3 separate regions of the Homo sapiens genome follow, and all the other regions are linked to region 1. The links are contacts of gene promoters, found by promoter capture Hi-C in blood cells and fetal thymus (Javierre and others, 2016). All regions are on one chromosome and are shown on one strand. Each heading gives the region's core, a stretch centred on a gene start or on the middle of the fragment in contact. The rest is flanking DNA. Distances are from core to core; before and after follow the strand shown. Region 1 holds the start of ZNF629 (zinc finger protein 629). Region 2 overlaps CTF1 (cardiotrophin 1). Region 3 overlaps MIR762HG (MIR762 host gene).

The links. The method cuts DNA at HindIII sites, captures the fragments that hold promoters and counts their contacts. A CHiCAGO score of 5 or more calls a contact.
Region 2: a fragment that was not itself captured here is called in contact with the fragment with the promoter of ZNF629 in region 1 in 4 of 17 cell types (M1 macrophages, M2 macrophages, megakaryocytes and 1 more); the score reaches 6.3 in M1 macrophages.
Region 3: a fragment that was not itself captured here is called in contact with the fragment with the promoter of ZNF629 in region 1 in 2 of 17 cell types (erythroblasts and M1 macrophages); the score reaches 5.7 in erythroblasts.

Annotation. Positions count from the first base shown.
Region 1 is chr16:30,785,355-30,788,790 of GRCh38, forward strand. It overlaps ZNF629 (zinc finger protein 629), which reads right to left and starts at 1,851. Exons shown (of 3, transcript NM_001080417.3): 1 at 1,674-1,851. RefSeq lists an enhancer at 1,801-1,920. The HindIII fragment of the contact is 10,939 bases long and covers 1-3,436 here.
Region 2 is chr16:30,901,597-30,905,032 of GRCh38, forward strand. It overlaps CTF1 (cardiotrophin 1), which reads left to right. Exons shown (of 3, transcript NM_001330.5): 3 at 482-1,951. The coding sequence ends at 943. It also overlaps the pseudogene CTF2P. Among named protein-coding and RNA genes, the nearest start is that of CTF1, 6.7 kb to the left of the region's middle. RefSeq lists a silencer at 430-929 and enhancers at 2,491-2,991, 2,992-3,436. The HindIII fragment of the contact is 3,666 bases long and covers 1-3,414 here.
Region 3 is chr16:30,884,319-30,887,754 of GRCh38, forward strand. The region is part of intron 2 of MIR762HG (MIR762 host gene); the gene reads left to right. It also overlaps a transcript of BCL7C not described here. Among named protein-coding and RNA genes, the nearest start is that of MIR762, 7.9 kb to the right of the region's middle. RefSeq lists a silencer at 627-706 and an enhancer at 3,138-3,436. The HindIII fragment of the contact is 294 bases long and covers 1,663-1,956 here.

The sequences.
Region 1 (3,436 bases), core at 601-3,100:
TAAGATGATAAAAGCAGGGCTCCATATCTGGCTCACCCCTGTCTCTGAGAGCACGAGGTGACCTTGGGAGTCATGTGAGACTCATGCTCATGGGAGGCTGGCAGGAGACAGGTGATGAGGACAGCTCATGGGGAGCCTGCTGGCAGTGAGAATAGGCTGGAGAAATTCCTGGGACCCAGAGGTTTCCCAGGCTAGAAAAGGAGGAGTTGGACCCAGGGACTAGGCCTGCTGGTCTGCACCCATGAGCTGGAACCATACTCCCCACCAAAGCCCTCCTATCCCCACTCCTGCCCGGACCCTCCTTCTACTCCTTTTGTCCTGCTTTCTTGAGGCTGTTTCCCAAGCCTAGCCTGGCACTGAATAGGTGCTCCAGAAACTTTGTTGAATGAATGAATGAGTGAGATGTCCCTAGCCCCTGGAACACCTGTTTGGTCTAATGCCTTTAAAGATCAGTTTGCAAGGGGATGGCAGCAAAGGAGCAGGAGTTCCAAGTGGCCCCCTGGTAAAATAAATAAATAAATAAATAAATAAATAAATAAAAACAGCCAGCTGTCACTCCAAAAATGGTGAGATGAGTTCAGGATGAGGGAATGGGGCCACAGGAACAAAGCGCTTGAAGGAGGTCCCACACCATTTACACCCTGCAGAGAATCCCTGGGTGGGGCCTGGAAACTTTGGATGGCTGTGTGAGGTGGGCGCTGTGTGCACAGGGGCAGTGGGGCAAGGGAGACATGGCAGGAGGCGCTGAGAGGTGACCAAGGTGAAGCAAGACTGGCTGCACCCTGCCAAAGAGCGGTAGGAGAGACAGAAGTTAGCGTTTAGGAAGTAAATTAATTTCTTCATCTCTGCAGCTACTTAAGCTCCGAGAATCCCCCCTCCCCGCCTGTAAGTGTCTTTGGGGTGGTGGAAGCGGAGACCTCTGCCACACTGGGGGCTGCCTGATGTCCGGTCCGGGAAGGATGCCCTGCTGTGTTTGCTCGGGACAGGTAAGAGTTTGTGGACCTCGATGGTCTCCAAAAAATTCTCCCCTAGTGGTCCAGAGTAGGAGGGAAAGGGTTAATGACAGGGCCGACACAGAGCATGGACGTGGGAAGACCGAGGGAGGCCGAGGCGCTGGGAGCCCAGGCGCCAGGCACGCCAGCCTGAGACCTCGCGATGGCCCCACTGCAGAGGGAGGGAATGAGGAGCCGCCTCCCGAGAGATGTGGGGAACGGCCCAGGGTGACCCTGACATGGAGGCGGCGGGAATGCGGCCGCCCGGCCCGGCCCCCCCACCGCTTGGCTCCGGACTTCTGCTCCCCCGGAGCCGCGACCCCCGTCCCGCTGCTGATACAGAGCCTGGGCATCCGCCCCTGCCCCGGCCCCCGGGGTCCCGGCTCCTTCCAGCACTGCCAGGCTCCTCCAGGGCTGCGCTGGCAGCGCTGGTCCCCGGCCCCGGCCGATCCCTCTTCCCAGAATCCCCAGGCTCCCCTCCCCCGCCACCGACCCCCGCGCTTCCCAGAATCCTCGGCCCTCCGCGCCCCCCGCCCGCCCCCACCCCGGCCACAGCCCCGGGCGCGGGTGGGGGGCTCAGGCCCGGGCTCCCGGCCCCCGCCTCCCGGGCCCCATTGTTCCCCGGCGGCCGTCCCGGGCACTCCAGGCCACCCCCCGGGAACCCAGGCGTCCCCAACTCACGGCTCTGGGGTCTGGGAAAAGCCGGAAGGCGGAATCCAGCCCCAGGGGACTTAACCCCTTCAGTGCCCTGCCTCGGGGGACGGACTGGGCGCCGAGGACTCTGGGGTCCTTCTCAAGGGGTGATTCCAGGCTGAGGACCCGGGGACCAGTTCAGGGTGACTGGGACGGAGCAGGAAGTGACCCCAGCTTCCCGGGCCCCTCTAGCCTGGAGTCAGAGCATCAGCTCTATGGGATTTAACCCTTTGCCTCCCGCAGCCTGGGGAAAAAAGGGGACAGCGGTGGGAGCAGGGAGGAGGCTGGGACGACGCCCCTGTCCCCGTCTCCAGTGGGAGCAGGCAGCGTGGGCATCTGGGAGAGCCCCGATGCCCGCGAGGGTCCCTGGGCTTCTGGCCGCTCTTCATTTCGCAGGGGCTCCGCCGGCCGCGCCCGGAAAGCCCTATCTCAGATTTGGCGGCTGCTGATCCCCTGAGGCCAGTCTTTGTTTGGACTAACCCTGGGATGGGGCTGGGGTGGGAGCAGGGGCTGGCAGAGCAGACCTGAGAGGGAACACCCTACGCACTAAACATGGCCTTAATGCTTGATGGAAGTCATGGCTGCAGGAGTTGGGACTGCAGGAACAAGCACAGCCGGGAAGGATTTGCAATAGCCTGTGTTCCAGCCCCTCTTCTCCAAACACCTCCCCTCAGAGGAGGAAACTGAGGCTCACGGTGGCAGGAAAGAAGCCAGTGGGGGTTCCCTGGCCAAGGAGGGAGAACCTCTTTTCTCATAGCTCAGAGGGCACCCGGCTCACAGCAGAAGAAACCTTTAAAAACCCAGGAACACTGGTGGCCTCTCAACGTCCAAGTTATCTATGCTCGCAATTTTTACAGCCTTTCTTTCTTGTCTTCCTTATCACAGTCCCATGGGATAAGGTTGCCCATCATCCCCATTTCACCGGGGAGGAAACCAAGGTGTGAGAAGCGACTGGTGTACTTAAGGCCACCTGATTCTTTCAGTTCAACACACTGCATTATTATTCCTGGGCACTGTGGTTAACACTGGGGTGGGCATACCTCTGAGATGCATGGAAATTGGGCTTTCTACCCTTGGGAAGTTTGGTATTGTGTATGTGTTACAAACACAGAGGAATCCTGGGAGCGTGCAGAGGGCTCTGTCCAGAGACTGAGAGGCTGGGGGGAAGAATAAACCAAAGGTCAGAAATTACTAAAGGCAGCTGGGTGCGGTGGCTCACGCCTGTAATCCCAACCCTTTGGGAGACCAAGGCAGGCGGATCACTTGAGGTCAGGAGTTTGAGACCAGCCTGGACAACATGGTGAAACCATGTCTCTACTAAAAATACAAAAATTAGCCAGGCGCAGTGGCTCATGCCTATAATCCCAGCACTTTGTGAGGCCGAGGCAGGCAGATCGCTTGAGCCCGGGAGGCAGAGGTTGCAATAAGCCAAGATTGAGCCACTGCACTGCAGCCTGGACGACAGAGTGAGATCCTGTCGCAAAAAAAAAAAAAAAAAGAAGGAGGGAGGGAGGGAGAGAAAGAGAGAAAAGGAAGGAAGGAAGGAAGGAAAAGAGAAAACAGGAAAGAGAAAAAATTGCTAAAGGCCAGGCCTGGTGGCTCATGCCTGTAATCCCAGCACTTTGGGAGGCTGAGGCAGAAGGGTAACTTGAGCCCAGGAGTTTGAAGGCTGGGCAACATAGTGAAACCCTGTCTCTACAAAAAACTTAAAAACAATTAGCTGGGCAGGGCGCGGTGGCTCATGCCTGTAA
Region 2 (3,436 bases), core at 332-2,831, 120 kb after region 1:
CAGGGTCTGACTCTCACCCAGGCTGGAGGGCAGTGGTGCCATCATAGCTCATTGAAGCCTTGACCTCCTGGGCTCAAGCAATCCTCCCACCTCAGCCTCAGCCTCCGGAACAGCTGGAACTACAGACATGCGCCACCACACTCGCTATTTTTTTTTTTTTTTTTTTTTTTAGAGCTGTGGTCTTGCTGTGTTGCCTAGGCTGGTCTCGAACCCCTGGGCTCAAGTGATTATCTCACCTTGGCCTCCCAAAGTGCTGACCTAAACTGGCCCAGTCTGGGTCCAGTTTAGGGAGGAAGAAACAGGCATTGGTGTCAAGCGCATGCCACTTTGTTTTGCCTTAAACAGAGCAGCTCTGTTAGGAGGGATTATCATCTGCAAGATGAGGAAACTGACACCCCCAGAGAGCGGGTTGGAGAGCCCAGTTAACAGCCCCCTGCCCGTGCTCCGGGGCCCCGCTGACCCGCCGGCCGTGTCTCCGCAGGTGCAGCTCCAGGGAGACCCCTTCGGGCTGCCCAGCTTCTCGCCGCCGCGGCTGCCGGTGGCCGGCCTGAGCGCCCCGGCTCCGAGCCACGCGGGGCTGCCAGTGCACGAGCGGCTGCGGCTGGACGCGGCGGCGCTGGCCGCGCTGCCCCCGCTGCTGGACGCAGTGTGTCGCCGCCAGGCCGAGCTGAACCCGCGCGCGCCGCGCCTGCTGCGCCGCCTGGAGGACGCGGCGCGCCAGGCCCGGGCCCTGGGCGCCGCCGTGGAGGCCTTGCTGGCCGCGCTGGGCGCCGCCAACCGCGGGCCCCGGGCCGAGCCCCCCGCCGCCACCGCCTCAGCCGCCTCCGCCACCGGGGTCTTCCCCGCCAAGGTGCTGGGGCTCCGCGTTTGCGGCCTCTACCGCGAGTGGCTGAGCCGCACCGAGGGCGACCTGGGCCAGCTGCTGCCCGGGGGCTCGGCCTGAGCGCCGCGGGGCAGCTCGCCCCGCCTCCTCCCGCTGGGTTCCGTCTCTCCTTCCGCTTCTTTGTCTTTCTCTGCCGCTGTCGGTGTCTGTCTGTCTGCTCTTAGCTGTCTCCATTGCCTCGGCCTTCTTTGCTTTTTGTGGGGGAGAGGGGAGGGGACGGGCAGGGTCTCTGTCGCCCAGGCTGGGGTGCAGTGGCGCGATCCCAGCACTGCAGCCTCAACCTCCTGGGCTCAAGCCATCCTTCCGCCTCAGCTTCCCCAGCAGCTGGGACTACAGGCACGCGCCACCACAGCCGGCTAATTTTTTATTTAATTTTTTGTAGAGACGAGGTTTCGCCATGTTGCCCAGGCTGGTCTTGAACTCCGGGGCTCAAGCGATCCTCCCGCTTCAGCCTCCCTAAGTGCTGGGATTGCAGGCGTGAGCCACTTTCCCAGCCTCTCTTTGCTTTGCCTGCCCCGTTCTCTTAACTCTTGGACCCTCCTCGTCTGCATGGTAACTCCGTCTGAGTCTACCATTTTCTTGCTCTCCCTCCTTCCTTGGGCCTGCCTCAGTTCCCTTTGGCCTCCCCCTTTACCCAGCTCTTGGGGTGTCTCTGTTTTTTCCATCCCCACTTCCTGCCTTCTCGTGGCCCTGTGTGAGCACATGTGTACATCTCAGCCTTATCTCAAGGAGGTGACACCTTCTCTCCTTGTCCCCATCTGGCTGTCTCTCTGTGCTTCCCTGGCCAGGGGCGTGCCTGCTGGTCCTATGGGGGGAAGGCTACTCTGCATCTCAGCCACCTTCCTCAGGCTCACTCCACCTACATCCCCAGTCTGCCACACCCCATCCCTTTGGGCCTCAGCCCTGTCCCTTTGATGTCCTCCTTTCCTTCAGCCCCTCTGCCCTGTCCCTGCACACCTCCACTGCCTCCCAGCAGATCTGTGGAGACAAAACAAGCAACACCTTAAAAGAGTTTTATTTCTGAAAATAAATTAATTTTTTGTAAATAAAATGTTTAAAAATAAAAAAGAAACTAAAGTTACTTGTATATATAGTTGTTGAAAATGGGGAGACAGCTTTAGGGAGAAAAGGACCCTTGGGATGCAGCCTAGTCCCCCAGACATGCCCAAGAAGCCCAGCAGTATAAATAGGAGGCTGACAGCCCCTGGCCAGTGGTGCCCTCTGCCAGCCCAGAACAGGAAGTGGATGTGTCCTAACAGGAAACAGATGTGATGCAGTCCTTAGTTCTTCAAGAATTGGGCTTCCATGGATCAGGAAGTGGAGCCCCTGAGGACAGGAAGTGGAACAGTAGCCCCAGAGAGACAGGCCAAGGAGGGGAGCCAATGAACTTCAGCAGGAAGAAGGAAGCCTATCCGCTTAGAAAGGCGGGCTCTTCATACAGCGAATGAGGCAGACAGAGACAGGAAGGCAGCCCCAACCGTCCCAAAATTACAAAAAAGGGAAGGTCTCAGGGAGAGCCTAGGAAGGGGACCAACTGTCCTCTCCCTGTAGAGTGACAGGTGAAGCCTCTTTGGAGAGGTGCATCTTTCCAACCAGGAAGTGGACACCCAGTACCACTGGATGGGTAACCCATGGAATGGCATCCATGGAGGTTGACCCAGACCTAGAACGCAGGCCAGAGGACCTGGGCCGGAAGGCCCTGAAATAAGGAAATTGAGGCCTGGCTCCCAGGAAATATTCCCATACATGGCACCCAAGCCCCATCTGCTAGATGAGGTTTATCTCCTTTTCTAGCCCACAAGCAAGGCAGAAAAGAGGCCATTGTGAAAGAGGAAGTGCTGCAGCCTCTGACAGGAAGTCCTACCCCTCTATGCTGAGTACTTAGCCTTGAGCAGAGCCAAGTCTCTCACAGCTCGGTCTGTCCAGTGGCCATATTCCCGGGTCACCACGTAGCCTCGACATTTCCTCTCAAAGGCCGAGGCCCCAAAGGCAGCAAGCCCTAGAGTATCCTCTTCTGGGGGGATTGGCAGCCCCAGGGCCGTCATGATGGCGGCCATATTGCCCAGCAGGCCTTGGGCCCTGAGTCTCGCAGCCCCGAGCTGAGCCGGCAGGATGGGACTGCCAGGGTTCAGGTCGCTCTGGTCGTCCTCCACGAGCTGGAGGTGCTGGGTCAATGGCCCTCTGGGCAAGGCTCAGCCGTTCCCCGTCATCCAGGGCGTGCCAGGTCTTAAAGAAGGCGGTGGCAGGAGGCAGGCTGCTGAGCTGGAGCTCAGGGGCTGAGAAGCCAGGGTCACTAAAGGGGCTGCCCTGGTACTGGAGCTGCAGGAGGGACAGAGACAGACAGGAGTGAGGGGACCAGAGCGGTGCCTGGGACTCTGACTTCACGCCTGCCCACTGAGACTGGCTTCTTCCCAGGAGTCGTCACTTGCTGCGTCTCAGGGAGCTGCTGGGATGTCCTGACACAGGGCAAGGGCCCTAGGAGGCTCAGGTGTGTCATCCTCTGCACGCTAGCTGTGCAACGTGGAGTCACAAGCTTCAGAAATTCCCACCTGG
Region 3 (3,436 bases), core at 560-3,059, 99 kb after region 1:
ACAGGAGAGTCTCTGGTAACCTCATTTGTAACATGGGGCAATAGGACAAAACCTGCCATTTATTGAGCACTTACTACGTCCCAGGCCAAAGGCTGTCTCTCCATGTGTGGCCTAATTTAACTCTCAGAATACTCTCATCAGGCTGATGTCACTATTATCTCCTATCTCCATTTGTTTTTTTTTTTTTTTTTTTTTTGAGACAGAGTCTCCCTCTTTTGCCCAGGCTGGAGTGCAATGGCGTGATCTTAGCTCACTGCAACCTCCTCCTCCCGGGTTCAAGAGATTCTCCTGCCTCAGTCTCCTGAGTAGCTGAGATTACAGATGCCCCGCAACCATGCCCAAGTAATTTTTCTATTTTTAGTAGAGACAGGGTTTCACCATGTTGGTTAGGCCAGTTTTGAACTCCTGACCTCAGTAATCCAACCACCTCAGCCTCCCAAAGTGCTGGGATTACAGGTGTGAGCCACCATGCCTGGCCTATTATCTCCATTTTATAGATGAGAAAACAGATGCACAGAAAGGTTCAGTCACTTGCTCAAGGTGATACAACAAATGAATGCAGATGCTGAGATTCAAACCCGGAACCTGAATTCTGAGCTTCAACACTGCACCACTAACCCACACAAGGGACTTTCCCATTTACAGAACACTCTCCTCCCTCGGGAGTGGTTGAGGGGAGTCATGAGGTGGCCACACACCCAGCAAACAGCCGACATTACCATGAAGATGGCCCTCCAAAGAAGTCCACATCTGAATCCCCAGAATCTGTGCATGTGTTGCTTTATATGGCACATGGGCTTTTGCAGGTGTGATGAAACTAAGGATTGTGAGATAGGAAGAGTGTCCTAGATTATTCAAATGGGCCCAGTGTCATCACAGGGTCCTTGGAGGAAGGAGGCAGGAGAGTTAGAGAAGATGTGACGATGGAGAGAGATTGGAAGATGCTACACTGCAGGTAGCCTCTAGAAGCCGGAAAAGGCAAAGAAAGAGATCCTCCTCTGGAGGGAACTACTGCTGAGACCTTGACTTTAACCCAGTGAGACTAACTTTGGACTTCTCCAGAACTGTAAGAGAATCAATGTCTGTGGCTTTTTCTTTTTTTTTTTTTTGAGATGGAGTCTTGCTCCATCACCCAGGCTGGAGTATAGTGGTGCGATCTCGGCTTACTGCAACCTCCCGGATTCAAGCAGTTCTCCTGTCTCAGCTTCCCGAGTAGCAGGGATTACAGGCGCCCGCCACTATGCCCAGCCAACTTTTGTATTTTTAGTAGAGACGGAGTTTCACCTTGTTGGTCAGGCTGGTCTCACACTCCTGACCTCAGGTGATCCACCCACCTCGGCCTCCCAAGGTGCTGGGATTATAGGCATGAGCCACTGTGCCTGGCTAATGTCTGTGGCTTTGAGCCCCTATATGTGTGGCAATTTGTTACAGCAGTGATAAGAAACAGTTACACTACATTGCAGCAAGCCTGGCTTCCCTGGACAGCACTGGCTCCACCAACACCACTGCAGCTGCTGTCGGAAGCATCCTTACATTTCCTTTGTTTGTTTAGACACAGGGTCTTGCTTTGTTGCCCAGATTTGAGCACAGTGGTGCAATCATCACTCACTGCAGCCTCAACTTCCCGGGCTCAAGCAATCTTCCCACCTCAGCCTCCCAAGAAGCTTGGACTACAGGCGCGCACCAGTATGCCTGGCTAATTTTTTCATTTTTGTCTTGCTTTGTTGCTCAAGCTGGTCTCAAACTCCTGGCCTCAAGCAGTCCTCCCACCTGTGCCTCTCAAAGGCCTGGGATTACAGGTGTGAGCCACCACACCTAGCCTACAGTTTTTAATGCTTCTTTAAAGTTCCAATTTGGTCCTCTCTGAACCTCAGTATCTTTCTTTATTAAAAATAAAAATAGGGCCAATATACATGACCCTATAGGCACAGAGTGAGAGGGCCTTATATTACTCGAAGCTTCCCACAAACCCCTGGGGCAGATGAGGCCTAGTTATTGTTCCCATTGCTCAGATGAACAAACTAAGGCTGAGAGTAGAAACAGCCTGCCTAGAGCCACTCAGGGAGTAACAGAGCCAGGACTTGAACCAGGGCTTCTGACTTGAGTTCTAGCACAGAGGTTCATGTCTCAGAGCCCAGCTCACATGCCACCTCCTCAGAGAAGCCTGCCTGGAAAACCCCAGCCCATTCATGTATTCATTTATTCATGAAGCAGCTGCTGGGACTGCCCTGTTCCCAGTGTTGTGTGGAGACCCCTCAGGAGCCCACAGCCTCGTAGACAAGACAGACACACAAACCACGGATCCCAGAACAGCCTGATAAATGATGAAACAAGGAGAATGAAGCCCAAGGGGTTGCTGGAGCTCAAAAAAGGGGAAACTCACTGAGCCTGGAGTCAGGGAAGGCTTCTCGGAGGAGATGGTGATTGAGATGGGGATAAGTTAGACCCAACCAGAAGTGTGGCCAGGCATCCCAGGTGGAGGAGTGGCTTCTTCAGGGCAGGGAATGGGTTGGTCATCCCAGGCCCCCAAGTCCCTCTGGGCCTCTGTGTTATTATGTATGAAACGTGAATAGGCTGGGCGCGGTGGCTCACGCCTGTAATCCCAACACTTTAGGAGGCCAAGGCAGGAGGAACACTTGAGCCCAGGAGTTCAAGACCAGCCTGGGCAATGTAGCGAGACCCCATGTCTACAAAAAATAAAATTAGCAGGCTGGGCATGGTGGCTCATGCCTGTAATCCCAGCACTTTGGGAGGCCGAGGCGGGCAAATCACTTGTGGTCAGGAGTTTGAGACCAGCCTGGCCAACATGGCAAAACCCAGTCTCTACTAAAAATACAAAAATTAGCCGGGCGTGGTGGCAGGCACCTCTAATCCCAGCTACTCAGGAGGCTGAGGCAGGAGACTTGCTTGAACCCAGGAGGCAGAGTTTGCAGTGAGGCGAGATTGCGCCATTGCACTCCAGCCTGGGCAACAAGAGCAAAACTCTCTAAAAAAAAATAGTGATAAATAAATAAATAAATAAATAAAATTAGCTGAGTATGGTGGCACACACCTGTGGTCCCGGCTACTTGGGAGGCTGAGGTGGGATGTCAAGGCTGCAGTGAGCCATGATCGCACCACTGCACTCCTGCCTGGGCAACAGAACAAGTCTGTGTCTCAAAAAAAAAAAAAAAAAAAAAAGAATCATGGCCTAGCTACCCAGAGTTTTGATAATTGTTAGGCCCAGGCGAGGGCTGAGCAGGAAGAGGGGTCCTGGGCCTCCCAGAGGAGGAGGTGAAGGTCGGGAGATAGGACAGACCTGGGAAGTACTGAGAGGCAGGGTCCTGGCTCAAGCCCCCACCCCACTCTGCCTTGTGGTGTCACTACAGGAAGGTCCTCTCAGAGCCTCAGTGACCACATCTGAGCAATGGTGCATGAGACAAAACTGTCTCCAAAG